Regions from separate parts of the Homo sapiens genome. Here regions 1, 2, 4, 5, 6 and 7 are each linked to region 3. Evidence: promoter capture Hi-C in 16 types of primary human blood cells and fetal thymus (Javierre and others, 2016). All regions are on one chromosome and are shown on one strand. The core of a region is centred on a gene start or on the middle of the fragment in contact, and the rest is flanking DNA. Distances in the headings are between cores, read along the strand shown. Region 1 overlaps EPM2A-DT (EPM2A divergent transcript). Region 2 overlaps FBXO30 (F-box protein 30). Region 3 holds the start of RAB32 (RAB32, member RAS oncogene family). Region 4 overlaps EPM2A-DT (EPM2A divergent transcript). Region 5 overlaps STXBP5 (syntaxin binding protein 5). Region 6 overlaps STXBP5-AS1 (STXBP5 antisense RNA 1). Region 7 overlaps EPM2A-DT (EPM2A divergent transcript).

The links. The method cuts DNA at HindIII sites, captures the fragments that hold promoters and counts their contacts. A CHiCAGO score of 5 or more calls a contact.
Region 1: a contact is called between a fragment that was not itself captured here and the fragment with the promoter of RAB32 in region 3, in 1 of 17 cell types (monocytes). The highest score is 8.6, in monocytes.
Region 2: a contact is called between a fragment that was not itself captured here and the fragment with the promoter of RAB32 in region 3, in 1 of 17 cell types (monocytes). The highest score is 5.5, in monocytes.
Region 4: a contact is called between a fragment that was not itself captured here and the fragment with the promoter of RAB32 in region 3, in 1 of 17 cell types (monocytes). The highest score is 5.6, in monocytes.
Region 5: a contact is called between a fragment that was not itself captured here and the fragment with the promoter of RAB32 in region 3, in 1 of 17 cell types (neutrophils). The highest score is 5.7, in neutrophils.
Region 6: a contact is called between a fragment that was not itself captured here and the fragment with the promoter of RAB32 in region 3, in 1 of 17 cell types (neutrophils). The highest score is 5.1, in neutrophils.
Region 7: a fragment that was not itself captured here is called in contact with the fragment with the promoter of RAB32 in region 3 in 2 of 17 cell types (M2 macrophages and monocytes); the score reaches 5.1 in M2 macrophages.

The regions. Positions count from the first base shown.
Region 1 is chr6:145,753,312-145,756,100 of GRCh38, forward strand. The region is part of intron 1 of EPM2A-DT (EPM2A divergent transcript); the gene reads left to right. It overlaps LOC105378039 (a long non-coding RNA gene), which reads right to left. Exons shown (of 3, transcript XR_007059799.1): 2 at 1,419-1,690. Among named protein-coding and RNA genes, the nearest start is that of EPM2A, 19 kb to the left of the region's middle. The HindIII fragment of the contact is 3,923 bases long and covers 1-2,789 here.
Region 2 is chr6:145,806,132-145,808,831 of GRCh38, forward strand. It overlaps FBXO30 (F-box protein 30), which reads right to left. Exons shown (of 3, transcript NM_032145.5): 2 at 1-290. The coding sequence starts at 274. All of the region lies in intron 1 of EPM2A-DT (EPM2A divergent transcript), which reads left to right. Among named protein-coding and RNA genes, the nearest start is that of FBXO30, 7.3 kb to the right of the region's middle. The HindIII fragment of the contact is 3,628 bases long and covers 1-2,700 here.
Region 3 is chr6:146,542,451-146,545,150 of GRCh38, forward strand. RAB32 (RAB32, member RAS oncogene family) reads left to right here and starts at 1,383. Exons shown (of 3, transcript NM_006834.5): 1 at 1,383-1,671. The coding sequence starts at 1,422. RefSeq lists a silencer at 957-1,336. The HindIII fragment of the contact is 5,944 bases long and covers 1-2,244 here.
Region 4 is chr6:145,847,951-145,850,650 of GRCh38, forward strand. All of the region lies in intron 2 of EPM2A-DT (EPM2A divergent transcript), which reads left to right. Among named protein-coding and RNA genes, the nearest start is that of FBXO30, 35 kb to the left of the region's middle. The HindIII fragment of the contact is 2,602 bases long and covers 14-2,615 here.
Region 5 is chr6:147,216,734-147,219,557 of GRCh38, forward strand. The region is part of intron 2 of STXBP5 (syntaxin binding protein 5); the gene reads left to right. Among named protein-coding and RNA genes, the nearest start is that of STXBP5-AS1, 14 kb to the left of the region's middle. The HindIII fragment of the contact is 2,032 bases long and covers 276-2,307 here.
Region 6 is chr6:147,195,091-147,197,790 of GRCh38, forward strand. The region is part of intron 1 of STXBP5-AS1 (STXBP5 antisense RNA 1); the gene reads right to left. Among named protein-coding and RNA genes, the nearest start is that of STXBP5, 8.0 kb to the right of the region's middle. The HindIII fragment of the contact is 3,605 bases long and covers 1-2,700 here.
Region 7 is chr6:145,874,169-145,876,868 of GRCh38, forward strand. The region is part of intron 2 of EPM2A-DT (EPM2A divergent transcript); the gene reads left to right. It also overlaps a transcript of SHPRH not described here. Among named protein-coding and RNA genes, the nearest start is that of FBXO30, 61 kb to the left of the region's middle. The HindIII fragment of the contact is 702 bases long and covers 1,095-1,796 here.

The DNA of each region.
Region 1 (2,789 bases), core at 268-2,767, 790 kb before region 3:
TTTACCAGATTTATATGGACATTAAATGATATATGGGAAAGTGCATAGAGCAGTGTCTGGCAAATAAAAACACTAGGCAAGTATTGATTATCATCATCATTATCATCAAACATTATTAATAGTTTGGTTGGTTTCAAGAATATAACATGTATCTAGAATATTATATTTGCATTAAGAGAGAGGAGAGTTCATTCACACAGGTAAACCTTGGCAAATACAGCTCATTAATTTTTCTCTTCATAGTAAAGATTATAGTGGCAATGGAGGGAAAGACCTGTCAATAATATGCATTATAAGACTGATATCTTCAGAATTCAGGAATAAATGTGCTAAATTAAACAGAAGCATGGCCATAAAAATAAGCATGAAGCCTACGTTTATAACACAAGGGCTTAAGTCAGATTGATTTATTTCTTAACTAAGTTGTTCTTCAGTAAATTGGAATTTGGCAATATATCTTATTAATCATTAAAATACAACCAGTGCTTCAATAGTTTGAGATGCCAGATAGAAACTACTTGTGAAAATCCAAACCATAATTAGAGCAAGTTAAATAATTCATATCTATTTTAAAACATTTAAAACGTCCATTTTGTGATAATCATTTCTTTATTCTCTTTATAGTTTTATTTCTCACGTATACATTTATAATACGATTTTGTTTGGCTGAGGCTGTCAGCATCCCACCCATAGCCCTTGCTTTTAGCACTTCAATGCACACAGCTCTCAATGCCTAAGGTCTTTGCCCAGGAGCTTTCACTTGCTGTTAAAGCACATTTTGTTGTGCAACTGGACCAGAAGTGCTGAAAAATACCCATAGAGCACCCTTCAACAATGACGGATGGGAATTGGTATAAATGTACTCTGGCTCCATCGTCTCCTCTGCTGGGACAACTGAGGAGTGCTTCACACTGGCTCTCTGAGTTTATCTAGTGGGGTTAAGCTCCAGTTGTCCACAGTGGTAGTTGGTTATCTTCCTCGCCTTCCTACTAGGGTTGCCTTCATCCCACAAATAAACCATATGCATTTAAATCCTGATTTCAAAATCTGCTTCTGGGATAATTCAAACTAAAATAATTGATATCATACATTGCTCTATGGAGCAAATCTTCAGGATGGGATTCAGAAATTGAATAACTCCCTGGGCATAGAGCAACAAGAATCCCATTCCTAGTAGTATAGTATCAAATCTATAGACTCTCATTTGTGGAAGATTGGGTTCCCATACTTACGTAGTAGCTGTAGCATGAAAGAGACCCTACCCTCTTTGCCATAGCCAGAGGGAAGGCTGCTGAAAATCAGATGCAAGGTCTAATTGTGGAATTATTTAAATTTCAAATAATGCTAAATTCACAGCCCCAGCAATTCTCCTATGCCAAATACAGAGTCGTCATAAAGAAGAAATGGGACCCAGAGACCTGAAACAGAAACATCTGGTCTTCTGTGCTTGAAAATCTTGACCCCTCTGTGCTATGTAAGACCTCCACTCCCCCATGCTAGATAGCCTCTCCTTGCTTGGAGATCATGCAGAAGTCTCACTTAAGGAAGATCCAATATATAGATAACAAAGACAGAATAATAACCGAGGAACTCTTTCTCACAGATATCTGTGGTGATATCTAATAGCCATGGTGTTTTTAGAGGCAAGATGGGTAGGCATCCAACAAAGATGTTGCATGACATGTACAACCTATAAGAACAAGAGCAGAGCAGAAGACAGTCATTAGTCACCATAATAGAAAATTGTTTTCTTACTCAATTTCCAAACCAGAATCTATTCTGAAAACTAGAGCCCTTCAATTGAAGAGAATGCTAGATCCCCTTCCCCTTAAGGAAGAATTTTGTAATGCTACAGCCAAGTACTTAAATAGTGATTTCCCCATTCCTTCCCACTTAAGGGATATATGGCCATTTACCCCAGTCATTCTACACAGAAGAAAGGAGCACATCCATGACTTTTAAAATCTGTCCTTACTTCCACTCACGGCTTGTACAGCAGTTACTAGGGTTATGCCTCAACACAGCCTTACTGGCGATGAACTGCTCTTCCATGAGAGGAAACGAACTATGTACCAAACATTCTGCATGGCCTGGCTAATATGCATAAGCAGCAACTGAGAGGATATACCTGAAATTGAGGGAGTAGAATATAAACTGGATAAGGGTGAACTCATTGTGAAGGGCACTCTCCTGTAACTCAAGATATAGCATCTCAGCAAGGACTTATGGAGCCAGTCCTAATGCACTATTGGAATGGATCCTTGGGATTTGGGGAAAAAACACAGCATATAGTGAATGAGGCAAGATGTTGAAATTGCCTAATAGGAGTATTTAGAAAGGGATAAAAAGACAAAGGAATGAACATGCTGTAATGTATTCAGAATATAGGACCAGAGAAGCTACCAGCTGACCCTGTCTCTGGAGAGGGCCCCAAGAATACTCAACTTAGATTGGCTCCTTGACTCATGGAGTAAAATCATCATAACATAAAAGGTAGTAGAAAACAGTAGAAATCCTTGAAACTGCCTTCACTTCAGGCAAGACAGTAAATTAGAAACAACCAATCCTGGATGGAATGGCAGAGATTAATATCTCTCTCAAAAGTGTAAAGGATACAGGAACATCATATCTCCCTCTAATTCACCAATCTGGCCCTTGCAAAAACCATATGGATCATGATGGATGAGAGTAGACTACATCACAGTCTTTCTGGGACTCTGGTAGCTCTCCTGATCTCAAGCACAATATAGTCCAAAGGAACCTCAATCCTCTAGACATTTCTCAGAACA
Region 2 (2,700 bases), core at 157-2,656, 740 kb before region 3:
TAGTACAGCACACCACACTTGCAGGACACATTTCTAGATGTTCAGCAACTTTATTTCGGGCCATGGTAAATGGACATCCAAAGTCACTATTTAAGCAAGGCACTCGTTCAAATGGACATAAAAGTCGATGCTCATCAGCTTTACAAGAATGGAAAACTGCACCACAAACCAATGGACAACCAATCAAATCACAGGAAATCCCTGGCTCTGGCCTGGTCATGCACCGTCTACTGACACAATTCACACAATGGGAATGCTGCAGCTCCTCCTCCATAATGGCCAGTCCAGCTCTGGTTGATGAAATGGAAAAAGATAAGAAATTAGCCAAAAAATGGTTGATTTTTCAAAATTGTTTAATAATTAAATCACTAATTTATCTAATATCTTGGTTTATTTTAGGATGACATATATAAAATAAACATACTTAACCAGTTAATTTTACATATAATCAATGTCTTGAAAGGATGTAAGCACTTACATTCTAGTAACAATTCAATACTGTAGAATGTCATAACGGTTCATTTTTATATACTATATAACAATATGCCTAAAAGGGCAAAAGTTTCAAAATATACTATTTAAATTCTAATACTGTGTATTATTTAATGTTAAAAACAAGTTAATGTGTATTTTAGATTTCAGAGTGTTTTTCACTTTTACCTTTCTAATTTCAACTAAACTGATTTTGATTGTACCCCACATTTCAGAGATCTTGTATTACTAAAAGAACAATATGAATTTCATGAATATATTTAAAACTTTCTTAGAAGTCTTTTTTTATTCCTTCTAAATGAATTCATTTAAGATTTCATCTATTGATCTCTCCTTCTATATATGCCTTAATAAATTCTGCCACAAATTAAGTAAGTCTTAATTAGAACATACAAGGAATTTATCCAGAAAATAAAAGTTCAAGCTCAAGCTCTGTGGCTGTGGGCAAATAACTTACTTTTGAGGGCCACATTCATTCATTAAATGCCTATTTATTGTTTAACTATCATGGACCATGCACTGTGTTTGGTGTGGCAATATAAAGATTAGCAAGTCACAGTGCCTCCTCTCAAAAAGCTACAGCAGGATGTCAAAGACAGTAAAAAGTGTATCTCGTTTTTATGTGGTCAATTTGACAGAAGTAAAATGGTACCAATAGAGAAGATAATAATCAATATGAGTAGGGATTAGAGAATAAATCACAGTAGTCTTGAAAGAGAAGTCTTAAGTATGGGACGGTAAACTGGTAAGAAAGAGAGGCATTCAATGCAGAAGTAATAGCATATGCAAATACAGAAAAGCATGAATTAGCAAAACCTCAAGTTCCCTAGTATTGTTGGATCACAGGGGAAAATGCCAGGTATCTGTAAGAGATGAGGTCAGAAAGGAATAAGGCAAATCATGATGAGTGCTTTATGCTGCTCCAAAGAGTTCACACTTTTACAACTGGAAGTCACTGAGAATTTTAAGCAGAGAAATAGTTCTATAAAATAACATGAATGGATTATAGATGTCTAATGGTCTTCCCTGCTTTAAAATTTCCATCATAACCTTTATAAAGAAAAGTTTTATATGAAAAATAAAAGTCTAACCATAATATATTGACTTAATTATAATTATTGAGCCTATTCAATGTATTTTTAGTATAATCAACTTCTTTACTGGTGTGTTTCCTATTAGCAATAAAAACTTTAAAAGATTATTTAACCTTTAAAAACTAAAATAATAGTCACGGTGGCTCAAACCTGTAATCCCAGCACTTTGGGAGGCCAACATAGGAGGGTCATTTGAGGCCTGGAGTTCAAGACCAGCCTGGACAACATAGCAAGACCCTGTCTCTACAAAATAAAAACAAAAAAATTAGCCAGGCATAGTGACATGCACCTGTAGTCCCAACTACTTGGGAGGCCAAGGCAGGAGGCTCAAATGAGCCCAGGAGATTGAGGCTGCAGTAAGCCATGACTGTGCACCCCTGCATTCCAGCCTGGGTGACAGAGTGAGGCTCTGTCTCAAAAAATAATAATAATAATTGAAATAATAACATAATATCCCCCCTTTACCACCATTTTTTTTTTCTTATCCAGTCAAACTTTCAAAAGAAAAACTGAAAACCACCAAAAAAAAACGTCTAATTTCCTATATATTCTTTAACTCTCTATTCTGGCCCCATTTTTACTACCCCTATTAAAACTGCTCTGCTGAGAACCTCAATACTAAATCTGGAGGCATATTTTTCTAGACCCCATCTTCCTTGGCCATTGTATCCTGATGATGACTAATCCCTTATTTTAGGACTATTACATCCTCTTACTTTTCATGATGTCACTCCAGTCTTTCTCCTACCCTTAGTCTTCTTAACTATTACTCAATAATAATTATTTAAATATTGCATTTCTTCAGGGCTTGTGTCATTTTTTGCTTATTCTGTACATTCTCCCTGGGTGCTCTCATTTTCTCCAAAAGTTTCAATTACCATACATAAGCTGAAAATCCGTCTATACATGCTGCCCAGATTCCTCTTTCAAACTCCTCTTCACTCTCTACAATGGATTACTTATGATATATTTCTACTTGTATATGGCACAGGCAACTCAGTTCAACATTTCCAAAATTAAATTACATTGTAGTAGACAAGAATTTTCTGGATAGGAAGGTGATTCTTATCCTGTTTTCTTCACCTCAGTGCGTAAGAGATTATTAACTCTCTGA
Region 3 (2,700 bases), core at 133-2,632:
GTCTGTGTATATGCGCGCGTGCATGCCTATGTATGTATTACAATTTCTTTATCCATTCATCGTTAACAGACACTTTGGTTGTTTCCAAATCTTCGCAACTGTGAATAATGCTGCATGAACTTGAGAGCGATTTCTGAGATCCTGATTTCATTTCCTTTGAGTATACACCCAGAAGAGGGATAGCTGGGTCACTGGCTTTAGCAACGATTTTTGCAATATCACACCAAAAGCCCAGGCAACCAAAGCAAACCTAGATAAATGGGACTTCATCCAACTAAAATGCTTCTGCACCGCATAGGAAATAATCAACAAAATGAAAAAACAGCCTATAGATTGGGAGAAAATATTTGTGAGCCATATATCTGATAAGGGGTTAATATCCAAAATACATTACGTTCACAGAACTCAGCCAAAATAAATAAATAAAACACCCAGTTAACTAACGGGCAAAGGATGTGAATGGACTTTTTTTTTTTTTCCAGAGGAAGTACAAATTGCCAACAGGTATAAGAAAAGGCGCTCAAAATCACTAATGAACAGGGAAAAGCCACTAGGTATCTCCTCACACCTGCTAGGATGACTGTTATAAAAAAGATAAGCGATAATAAGTGTCGGTGATGTGCGGAGCAAAGGGAACCTTGTACACTGGTGGTGGGAATGCGGACTGGAACAGCCATTATGGAAAACCCTACGGAGGTTCACTCAAAAAGTTAAAAACAGAACTACCAGCCCAGTGTTATCCGTCCTTCGTTAAGTTCAAAGTCACGGTGCCACTTCCTTTCCCATCTAAAGGGGACTGCTCGCGACCCAAGCCAAGGCCCGCAAGTGTGGCTCTCCCTGCGGGGAGAGTAGGGCAGGAGGTGGATTTCCAGGCCAGAGGCTTCCAGGCTGGGCCCGGACCCCACGCCGACCCCGGCCCCGGGGGGGGCTCAGCGACCTCGGCGCCTCCTCAGGCCCCCAGTGAACCTCCGGGGCCCATAAAGGCTCCAGGCCGGCTCCCCGGAGGCCCACCAGCGGGCGTCTGGGCCTCCCTCCGCGCCGCGACCGCCAGGAGGCGCCGCCCGGGAGAGGAAGTCCAGCTGGGCCCGGCCGGGCTTCGGAGGCGCCGCCCGGGAGAGGAAGTCCAGTTGGGCCCGGCCGGGCTTCAGAGGCGCAGGGCGGGAGCCGCCTCGCGCAGGGTCCTCCCCAAGCCGGCGCCAGGCCCTGCCCTCGTCCGGCCCTGCCCTCGTCTGGCCCCGCCCGGGCCGCGAGCACTGGCGGGTTCTGGGTCCTGTGACCGGTCAGGCGGCGTCAGCGGGCGCGGCGGAGGGCTGGCCGGCCTCGGGGGAGTTTCCGCGGCCGCCGGGGGCGCGGCGGCAGAGCGCGAGGCCGGGCAGGGGGCCAGACTCGGAGTCGAGGCGCGCCCGACAGCCGCAGCGCTCATGGCGGGCGGAGGAGCCGGGGACCCCGGCCTGGGGGCGGCCGCCGCCCCAGCGCCCGAGACCCGCGAGCACCTCTTCAAGGTGCTGGTGATCGGCGAGCTTGGCGTGGGCAAGACCAGCATCATCAAGCGCTACGTCCACCAGCTCTTCTCCCAGCACTACCGGGCCACCATCGGGGTGGACTTCGCCCTCAAGGTCCTCAACTGGGACAGCAGGACTCTGGTGCGCCTGCAGCTGTGGGACATCGCGGGTAAGCGCGGCCGCGAGTTTCCCACTCCAGAGCCCCGCCGGGCCGCCTGGCTCCTCTCTGCTTCTTTTCTTTTTCTTTTCTGCCTGAACTCGTCTGCCTGGGTACCTTTAGGAGAAGAGAGAGGCCCAATCCAAGGGCGAGATGCGATGGACGCGGTCGGCTGGACTCGGTGGGGCCCAGAGGATGGGATGGGCAGTAGGAGTTGGAGCAGGTCCTGCACGCCAGAGCTCGCTCTCCTGAAGGGAGGCGAGGAGGCCAGGGGGCCTTTTCCAGAAGTTTGAACTCTGAATAATGCAAGTATATCATACATACACCAGGACTAGTTGAGAAGGCTGCTTTGGAGCGGGCCGGCGCCTCTCAGCCTCAACTCAAGTTCAGAGGGATTGGGTGACTTAACCCGAAGCTGCACTCCTAGTTAGTGACACCACCAAGACCAAAAGCCAGGTTCCTTTCCAGATCATTTTCCACCACCCGCCTTGGCTCTGAGACTGGCCTTTGTGAGGGAAACTCCATTCCTCAAATACTTTGCTCTCATCGGAAGCCGAGGACAGACACTCCGTGAAGATTTGGGAAAGCTTTTCTGAAACCTTACACTCACCCCTTCCTCTCTTGCTAAACCAACACCTAGTCCCATCCCTGGTGCCCTCGCCCCCCCCCGCCCCCCCCCCACTCCTCAATACAGTGTTTCTCTGCCATTTGCTTTCATTTGTTCTGTTTGAGGGGGTACATTTCCCTCTGCTCTGATTTATGAACACTTGAACTTTGCCTGGTGTGGTGGTTGGGAGTGGGCGTTTTAAAGATGATGTTAACTATTGGAAAGTTCATAGAAATGGTACCAAGCCAAGTGCCAGTGGCTCACGCCTGTAATCCCAGCACTTTGGAAGGCCTAGACTGGAGGATCGCATGAGCACAGGAGTTCGAGACCAGCCTGGGCTGTTAGTGAGACCCTGTCTCTACAAAATACATACATACATATATACATACATACATACAAAAAATTAGACAAGTGTGGTCGTGCGTGCCTGTAGT
Region 4 (2,700 bases), core at 65-2,564, 690 kb before region 3:
GTATAGTTTTATAAGCTTTGTAATGTCTTCGCAGAATTATGATTTACTACCAAGTATAATCTAAATTTCCACAGGATGGTTAGATTTAATTGAGGTATCATCATTCTACAAAGCCAAACTTCTGAATATCAGGATGTTCTAGTTGTGTCTACAATAAGCCAAAGAATTTAGAGAATTCTGCATTTGAATTTAGGGTTTTTCTTATGATTGGCCTAAGCATAAATATTTCATATGTTTTTCAAAAAAGAGACAATTCCAGAATATTTTTTCTTTTCAAATTTGTGTTTGGTCTAGTGGGAAGCATATATTCTAAGAAACAGAATTATAGATCTTTTCTAGGCAATAGAAAAATTATACACATTTATATGGGTTTATATTGATGTATGTTCCTATTGGAAAAAAATTGTCTTAATTCGTTCTTACTGGCATAGCAAAACTAGATAATCTCACTTTGCCAGTTACAGTGACCTTCTTTTACTTTATGGATCAAATAGGGGAAAAAGTTCTTGGCAGTAGCTGAACCTATTTCTGTTTCTGGAACACAGTTCCACAAAAGACCAACTTTTAAAGAAAAAATGAATAAAAACTAATAAACAATATATGTTCCTCTTCCTGATTCAACCTAGAAGCAGATGGAGAGGCCATGGAGGCAAGTCCTGTGCTTCTATAGGCCTGATTCCTGTTTCTAAAATTGGATCTAATTCTATCAGTTTATGTCTCCTGGGAAACAGACACCAAAATGTAATTAGAAGAGCAAGAAATTAATCAAGAGTAATTCCAGTGAAAGATAAAGGGGAAAAGGGAGTAGGAATAGACAGGGAAAGACTCAGACTGTGATGTAAGTCTGACCCCTGTGGAAAGGAGAATAGGAAGGAAGGAGGATTGGATATGACTAGCCTCAAAGGGCAATAAGTATAGTACTGACAAAACCTCGGCGAAGCAAGAGAGCTCTGGTGCAAACATTGACAGAGGAGGAGCTCTGCATAAGGGACAGATGGCTAGGCCCTGGTACATCATACCCAGGCATTGGCTGGGAGCTATCCAGTCTTCTGAGGGCATTAGAGCAGGAGGCTCTCAACTGACTGCACTACTCCAGGTGAATAGCAAGTTCTTTTTATCTGAGGGGTGCATCTTGACTTCCCATTAGTAGTGAGAGATATTCAAATTTAATATTTACACTTTTCTTGGAAGGCACCTTTAAAGATTTCTTTTGTAGTCTGCCTTATTCTTGCAAACTATGGGGATACCTTGGGCATATTAAATAGCATCAGAGTAAAGTTGGGCTCCTGAAGTCAACTCATTCACAAGAGTCATATCAGTATCCTGCATGCCATTGTTTTCTACTAAAAAGCCCCAAACTGGAAATTCTATGTTTTACGCAAGATAATGAGGTGCATTTGTAACACAAATTCTCATTGCTAAACTGAAGGAAATATAGCAAAACTGTCAAAAGTAATGTGTACTAATCATCTTTTGAATAATTGGAGCAAAGCCAAGATTGTTACAAAACATGATTGGTTGACGTGCTACCAGGGACATTTCATGCCCTGTGCAGTTCTGTGAAATCAGTTTGGATTGTGATCTTCTAGTCCCCATTCTCTTTTTTTTTTTTTACTAATCCAGCAATCCATCCTCAGTTGATAAAAAATTAATTTTAAATCACAGAGGTCATTTATAGCTAGTGTATTAGTCAGAGTTCTCCAGAGAGAGAGAGAGAAATTATGAGGAATTGGATCCCACAATTATGGAGGCTGAAAAGTCTCATAATCTGCAAGCTGGAGACCCAGTAAAGCCAGTGGTATAATTCCAGTCCAATTCTGAAGGCCCGAGAACCAGGGGAGCGGAAGGTGTAAATTTCAGTTCAAGTGCAGGAGAAGACTGATATCTCAGCTCAGGCAATCAGGCAGGAAGCAAAGGGGAAAAATTCCTCCTTCCTCCATTTTTTTTTTTTTTTTTGTTATTGTTCTATTTGGGCCTTCAACAGGTTGGATGGTGCCAACCTATACCAGTGACAACCATCTACTTTATTTATTGAGTCCACTGATTGAAATGCTAATCTCATGTGGAAATACCCCAATGGACGCAGCCAGAAATAATGTTTACTCTGAGCACACCATGGCACAGGTGAGTTGACGCATACAGTTAACCATCACACCTAGGAACACAGGAACAATCAATTCTGTTAAGGGGACTCAGGGGACCAAGAAAGGAACTATGAGATTTTGAGAAGGAAGGAGACATTTGCAAGGCTAGTGGGGAGGGGCATTTCAGGCAGAGAAAACAACAGTAGCAAGTCCTGGTCAACACGGAAGTCCAGGACATACTACTCAGGAAATAACTATTTTTCTGATGTGATAGAGAGACAGACAGAGAGAGAGAGAGAGAGAGAGAGAGAGAGAGAGAGAGACAGAGAGAGACACACAGAGAGAGAGACACAGAGAGAGAGAGAGACAGACAGAGAGTCTGTGTCTATGTGTGTTATGCGTGTGTTTATCTTGTGTGTGTTTTGTCTGGCAGGGAAGAGGGAAGAGGAAGAGTGGGTGGAATGAAATCATAGAGAGTGGCTGGAAGAGCTTTATTTTGGTTCTCATAGGTTTTAATTAGTATCTTACAAAAGCTTTTTTGTGCTGTCTTTTGTGATGACAAGTGGAAACTTCTCCATCACAGATCTACTCTGCTCAATACAGTAACTTTTAGCCA
Region 5 (2,824 bases), core at 42-2,541, 670 kb after region 3:
TTTCTTTATATTTATTGGAGCTATGATTTTAACGTGAGCATTCACCCAGAAAGGTTTTTAAATAAAAAATAGCTGATAATTTTTGTTTTATATTAATCTTCATTTGAAAAATAAGGTTTGCTTTATACAGCTTGTTATTTGTAAGATATATGACGAGTCCTAGAACTCACATGGTAGCTATTGTTAAACAGCAAGTTTTAAACAATTGGAGGTGTTTTAATAATAGTGTTTGGTCTTGTTTTTTATTTTCAAATAAGTGCAGTCTGGAACTTTGAAGCTTTTCCTTGTGAAGTTGTTTGTTGAGTGCTTAATCCTGCTCTTTCTTTAAAGTACGTAATCTTTTCTTGTGATGGCAGTACCTCTGCTGTTTCACAGCAGCTCTCTGTCAAAGGTGACTATAAATCTGGCCGCATCAGCTATTGCAGTACTTTCTGCTAAATGGTTTTCCTTTGTGCGTTTGTCTCTTTTTGTCTTTTGAAAAGGAAAAAAAAAAGTGTTGAAACAGATTTTTCCATCTGTTCAGTCTTTGTACTGTATTTTTCATAATGTGTTGTATTTTTCTTTTAAAATTCACTTAACATACTTGAGAAAAGAACTTAGCCATTAGGCATCTGGGAATGGATGCTGGGATAAAAAGCTGTTTTTACTTATATGTGAGAATTTACATTCTTTCTTGTTCATTTAACCCAGACCACTATTATTTATGACTACGTAGTAAATAGTAGTTTGAGCAAGTGGTTCCTTTAAAAGTATATTTATCTATCAAAAGCCATTCTAAAGAATTGCCTGTGATGACAAATATAATTCATTTTTGCCTCTTCAAAAACAGTCCTAACTCCAAAACAGTGAATATTAAGAATGATTGTTTTCAACCACTCTAATTTGTTCACAAATAATAAAAAATTTCTTACTAAAAATAATAGTGGAAGGAGGTAACTAGAGGCTTATTCCAACCCAGTGAATACTATAATTATGTATTAGTCTGAATGTTGCAATTACTTTTCTGTTTTGGTGCTTGTTTTATTCACATTAAAACAAAAAAGCAGTTGACCGACCTAAATTTTCAGATACTGTTGGACATTTGTAAAATGTTACAGTTGTCTTGACTTAAAGTTTTAAATGTTGATGTGCACATTTTTCATGGCTATTCTTAGCATCTTGTTAAATTTTTACTGCAGAAATAGTTCATTTTGTAGTTTTTCTTAAATGAGATTAGCAGAATATAAGCATTGAGTAAGCAGTAAAAATTAATTTTGCCTACTCTTATCATGATGATGTGGCTATCTTCATTTTTAATATATTTTCTAAATAGACTTCATTTTTTAGTGCAGTTTTAGGTTCACAGCAAAAGTAAGTGGAAGGTACAGAGATATTATATATACTCCCTGCCTGTCCCAAAACATTCGTAGCCTCCTCCATTATCAGCAGAGTGGTACATTGAATCTACATTGACACATCATTTTCATCCAAAGTCCATAGTTTATGATAGGGCTCATTCTTTGCACATTTTATGTGTTTAGACAAATATAATTACATGTCTTTCATCATTATAATATCATACAGAATATTCTCACTCTGCAGAGTTTTGTGCTGTTCTTCGTGTAGATCTTGTACATATTTGTTAGATTTATATTTAAGTATTTCATTTTTTGGGGTGCTAATATAAATTTCAAATAATTTCAAATTAATTATTTCAAATTCCACTGGTTCTTTTCTGGTATATAAGAAAATGAATGACTATGTTTTTTGGTTTTTTTTTCTTTTTTAGAGACAGTCTTGCTCTGTTTCCCAGGCTGGAGTGCAGTGGTACAAACACAGCTCACTGCAGCCTCGATCTCCTGGGCTCGAGCAATCCTTCCACCTCAGCCTCCTGAGTAACTGGGACCACAGGTGCACACCATCACACCCAACTAATTTTTAAATTTGTTGTAGAGACAAGGTCCTGGCATGTTGGCCAGGCTTGTCTTGAACTCCTGGGCTGCAGTGATCTCACATCCCAAAGTGCTGGGGTTTACTGGCATAAGCCACTGTGCCTGGGTGTGAATGAGTTTTGTATGTTAACCTTGCATATCCTGGCCACCTTGCTATAATCACATATTGGTTGCAGGAGTTTTTCTGTTCATTCTTTCTGATAGCTGCATAGTTGATCATGTTATCAATGAACAAAGAAAGTTTTCTTTCTTTCTTCCTAATCTATGTGCATACCTTTTATTTCCTTTGCTCATTGCATTAGCTGGTGCTCCCATTACAGTGTTGAAAGGCGTGATAAGAGGGATATCCTTGCCTTGTTTCTGATTGTAGTGGAGAAGCTTTGAGTGTTTTGCTATTAAGTGTGTTAGCTGTAGTTTTTATGTAGATGTTCTTTATCAAGTTGAGCAACTTCACCTGTATTCGTAGTTTACCGACAGTGTTTATCTGGAATGAGTGTTGGATTTTCTGCATCAGTTGATATAATCATGTGATTTTTCTTTTTTTAGAAAAATGTTTTCTAAATGTTTTCAAATGTTGAACTAGACTTGCATACCTGGTATAAATCCCATTTGGTCATGCTGTGTGATTCTTTTTATACACTGTTGAATTCAGTTTGGTAAAAATTGTATTGAGAATTTTTGCATCCATCTTCATGAGAAGGATTGATCTTAGTTTTCTTTTCTCGTAATGCCTTTGGTATTCATATTAGTGTAATGCTGGGCTCATAAAATGAGTTAGGATATATTTCCTCTGCCTTTATCTTCTGAAAGAGACTAGAAACTTGTTATAATTCACCAGTCAACCCATCTGGTCCTGGTACTTTCTATTTTGGGAATCTATTAATTGATTCAGT
Region 6 (2,700 bases), core at 185-2,684, 650 kb after region 3:
CCTCAATTTCCTGAATTTAACAAACCCTCTCATCATGAATAAGCAGAACATTTCTAGCTTAAGAGGCAGCCACTGCCTAGGAATTTATGTATCAATGATATGCACATTTTAGGCAAACTACAGATTACTAAATTTGGATGCTCTTGTAGGTCACTGGACACATCCTATATTAAGTTAGAAAAAACAAACTTCATGACTGAAAAGTAAATATGAATCATTTGAAATAATACAGGGCAGAGAATGTGACTCATTGATAGATGTAACCCACAGTGTCACTAAAATCTTCACGGTGTTTCCTTTACCCTCACAAATCTATTGGCCCTAATCAAAAATGTTTTTGGTTGACTGATAGTCTCAAACTACTTTGTTTTCACTTTCTTCTCAAAAGTGCAGTCATATCCAGCTGCTAAAAAATGATGTGAAGCAAAGAAACAGCCTGGTATCCCTTTTCTTTTTCTTCCTATAGTCTTGGAATGAAAGGATCATTTCTTATTTCATCACAACAAAAATGGAAAGAGGCATGGCACTCCATGCTGAAGGGTGAATAGTGACTATCTTGTATGCAAATGTGAAAACCCCCATTTACTTTAATTATGAAGCCACACCTTGAGGTTATACTGTCATTACGGTTATGAGGAAACCAAGGAAGGGAAGTTGTACTGGGGGCCTGTTGAACAAGGAGATTAAGTCTTGGTACAAATATTTGGGTCATGCTGACCTGGATGAAATTTAGTGGGAGTAGTTAGAGGTTCTGAATGAGTGACAAGGGATTGAATGATTTCAGGGAACTGCCTCCTCCACCCGCCACGTTTTCCAACCCTAAGAGTTCTATCCTTGGAGGCCCATGCTCTGGGACCAAGTACCGTGGTGATGAGTATATGCCCAGTGGGAGAGTGTTTCTACAGAGTGTGAAATGAGACAGAGTAATTATCCTCAGGAGAATAAAAACATGCCTTTGACATTGGGTTTGTCTTACCTTTCGGGGATTCTGCTTCCCTACCACTAAATTGCCATCCCATTGGTTACCAAAACCAAGTTGAATCATGTTTGTATTCCCCACAACATCCAGCAAGATACCTGTCACATAGTAGGCCCACAGTTAATGTTTGTGGGATGAAATACTAATGCTCACCCTGCTGGCAGGTAAACAAACACTAAGATTCAGACTTTTGATCCTCTATCTTGGAAAATGCACTAACACTATTACCTTCCATCCCTCCCTTGCTTTATAGACTTTAATCATTTTGTGTCCCCAACATCACGATTATTTTTTTCTCTCGATTTATTTATGGGCCAGGAATAGATTGGAACTAAAATACCAAAGTGTAAGTAGTTACATTGCTTGTCCTTCCTTTGTAAAGAATATTCGTTCTTTGTGCTTCTGACCTATTCACCATTTTTTCCCTTCCTGATTAGCTAAGGCTATCAGCTGAGTGTCAGGGAGAAGGGAGTATATAGTGCTACATAAGAAAATATATAGAACAGAACAGTCTAGGAGGTGAGATGAGGGGGTATTTGGAGAGAGCAAGTAAGCCATCCAGCAAAGGCTGGGCTTTCTGAGGAGAGAGGGACATGGGGGTGGCGGGGGAGTATTTGAAAAACTGCCCTGAGCTGGGGTAGAAGGTGGTGGGGAAGCTGATAAAAGGGTGAAGAGAACTCAGAGGATGTTTTTCTATGCTAAGTGTTTTATCTTCCTTCAAAAGTGGCCTTAACAGATTAAAACAATATCTAAATTGTTTTCCAAGTCTTTGGAGCTAGGGGTGTGTGTGTGTGTGTGTGTGTGTGTGTGTGTGTGTTTGCATGAAAGAGAGAAAGAGAGAGAGTATGCTGAGAATTAAAAGGCCCAGTTTTATTTGGGGTAGAGTCCATATTTTTTATATTCATTTTACTAACATTTTGGTTTACTAACATTTTGGTTAACTAACATGTTACCAGGTAATTTAATGGAGATTTTGCATTTAAAAAATTGCATTCCTAAAGGAACTTAGTTTGTGCCATTGGTCATAGAATCAGGAACAGTGTGATGGCTACTAAAGGTGGAATTGGGACTAGGGAAGTGTGAAAATAGAATAATAGAATGCCATAAAAAAAGAGCAGCTGATGCGGAAGCCTAAAGGTAGTTAGGAGGCCAGAAATTTACCCCAAAGTGGAAGCTGTTTGACCCGGGCTGGGGGAAGCAGGTACTCCAGTTTTAGGTCTGCAGGTACATTATCTTTGGACCAAGTGTGTAGTGTTTCCTACAAACACATTTTAAAAAATCCATTCTGAGTTTAAAGCTAGATACCTAGTCCTGCTTGGAGGAACTCCATCCCATGGATACAGACTGTGCTTTCCTACCTTCTGCAAAAAACTTCTAAGAGTTAATTAGCATCCTTTGCATGTTTTCATTGTTAGTATTAATATGATTCTCTTGGCTCTGATGGGTCTTTAGAGAAAGTGTTCCCACCCTCCTTATGTTAAGGTTTTTGTTTTGGTCCTTTTTGATTTCTTATGTGGTAATCTTTAGGGTTGACCAGAAAGAAAAGAGTTTGCATCTAAATGTTCCACAGTTCAGTGACTAAGAGGGGTGACACAGCCCCAGAGCCTACGATGGCAGGCACTGTTACATCGGTCTCAATTAACACTGTCTCACTGGGCTGCCCTGTCAGGCAACTCTCTCTGAGGGGAAAAAGCAGACAGTTTTCTATTAGTATGTTGGTG
Region 7 (2,700 bases), core at 196-2,695, 670 kb before region 3:
GTCTGGGCAACAAGAGTGAAACTCCATCTCAAAAATAATAAAATAATAATAATAATAATAATAATAATAATGTGTGGGCAGATGTCATCTACACCATAGTTTCAGAATGCAATAAATTCACATTTAAAAACCTTGAAGTACACCGTATCAAAACTTTACTTCATCTTTCATTCTTATGTGATTCAGTTGATAGGCTGGAAGAACAATGAAAGTGAGTTCCATCATGCTGCCTGGTGTCCGTGTCCTTAATGATAAAGACTTTGAGTGTATTTGCAAACTCTCTGTTAATGACAGCATTTTTTTTTATTCTGAGCTTTATTAAGGTATAATTGACATACAAAAATTGTACATATTTAAGGTGTATAATGTAATGTTTTGATATACATATACATTCTGAAATGATTACCAAAATCAAGATAATTAACACATCCATCACCTCATAGTTATCCATTTAGCAAATCCTTTACTAGGTGGCAAAATTGATTTTAAAATCACATTTTTATCCCCTTGAAGTTTTTTCATCTGTAAATTTTCAAGGGCAGTCTTTTAATAGAATACAAACAGCTCATTCCTTATGTGGCTCCAAGCTGGCATTTCAGCATTGGGTTTAAACTTTAGAGCAACATATGAAAATCTCCTGAATAAACTTGTCAATGATTATGGTCATCAAAACTTAGTATGATCAAGGAAACTGGTTTTTGCATAATATTCTGAATATTTAAACTCCACAGAGCTTGAATAAATGAAGTACAAATTAAACATATCGATTTTTTTCTTTTGGTACATGGTCTATGTTATTGCAGATTAGCATCCCAAATCCCAAAATCCCAAATTTGAAATGCTTCAAAACTGAAACCTTTTGAGCACTGATATAAGTCTCAAGGGAAATGCATTTTGGATTTCAGATGCTCAACCAGTAAGCACATAATGCAAATATTAAAAAATCTGAAATCCAAAACACTTCTGGTCCCAAGATATGGGATACTCATCCTGTACCATGGTAAATGGTTAGTTCTTCCTTGGCTTATGCCAGTGGTTCTTGATTTAAGCCCCAGGAGATATTGGAAATTTCTGGAAACATTTTTGGTTGTCAAAGCTTGGGGGTGGAGTATGTTTCTGGCATCTAATGGGTAGAGGCCAGGGATGCTGCTCAATCTTATAATGCATAGGACAGGCCCCAGAAGAAAGAATTGCCTGGCCCAAAATGTCAATCACTAGTGCTGAGGTTGAGAATTCTTGACTTAGGCCATAGCCGTTCCACAGCTCAAGTCACAGTTGCATTCCTTTAGTTGAACCTTACAGTTCAGTTGTTCTACTCAATATTTGAATGCTGAAGGAAGACTGGCCCTCTAGGGTTGTATTTCTAGAACAGGGAGAATGTAGTACTTTGAGGTTGCATGCTTTAGAATTAGTCATTATGTGAGTTGGAAGACCATTTGATTCTTTATTAGAAGTTAGCAAGTGTGCCAGATTAGACCTTCACCCAAGAACGTCATGAGGGTTAATGAGAGGTTTTTAAAAGATAATAGTTATCTTTGTTTCATGTTTAACAACTTTATGCATTGGCTGGTCATTCCAGCTCCACAGAAAGCTCTTCAGTTGAGTTTCAATTACAGCCCGCAATTCCAGATGCTACAACATTTTAACTGTGGCTGCCAGATATCAGTGAGATTCACAGGCCTGGAGTACAACATTCTTTACAATGTGTGCTTCATATTTTGAAGGCCATCTGTCTCATTTTCATCTACAATTGGCTCTGCCGAAGTTTTGCATGCCAAATGATATTTTTTAAAATAAGCTTTTGTGCTACTTTAAAAATGTTTCAAAAATATCTTCGAGATACAATTCACACACCATGAAATTCAGCCATTTAAAGTGTACAAGTCAGTGGTTTTTAGTAGATTCACAAAGTTGTGCAACTATCACTACAGTCTAAATTTAGAACACTTTCATTACTCCATAAAGAAACCCCATGCCCATTAGCAGTCACTCCAGTTCCTCTCCTAGTCCTGGGCAACCACTAATGTAATTTCTGTCTCTAAAGATTTGCCTGTTCTTATGAGGAGTGGCGGTGTACACCTGTAGTCCCAGCTACTTGAGGAGGCCAAGGCAGGAGGATCATTTAAGCCCAGGAGTTTCAGGCTGCAGTGAATTATGATACTGCTACTGCACTCCCATCTGGGTGACAGAGTGAGAACCCATCCTCTAAAAAAAATAAAGATTTGCCTATTCTAGACATTTCTTATAAACAGAAATATACAGTATTTTGGGACTGCTTTTTTTCACTTAGCATAATGTTTTTAAGGTTCATCCATGTTGTAGCATGTATAAGTATTTCATTTCTTTTTTGTCCAAATCATATTCCATTAGAAGTATAACCATATTTGATTTATCCATTTATCGTTTGATAGGCATTTGGGTTGTTTCCACATTTGCCTACTATAAATAATGCTGCTATAAATATTCACATACAAGTTTTTCTGTGAACACATGTTTTCATTTCTCTCCATTATTATTATAGGCTGAACTGTGGCTCCACCAAATTCATAATTTGAAGTCCCAACCCCTAGTATCTCAGGATGTAACTGTATTTAAAGATAAGGTGTGTATAGAGGTGGTTATGCTAAAGTAAAGCTGCTAGGATGGGGGCTCTAATCCCGTATGAATAGTGTCCTTATAAAAAGCCATCAGGGGCCTGTC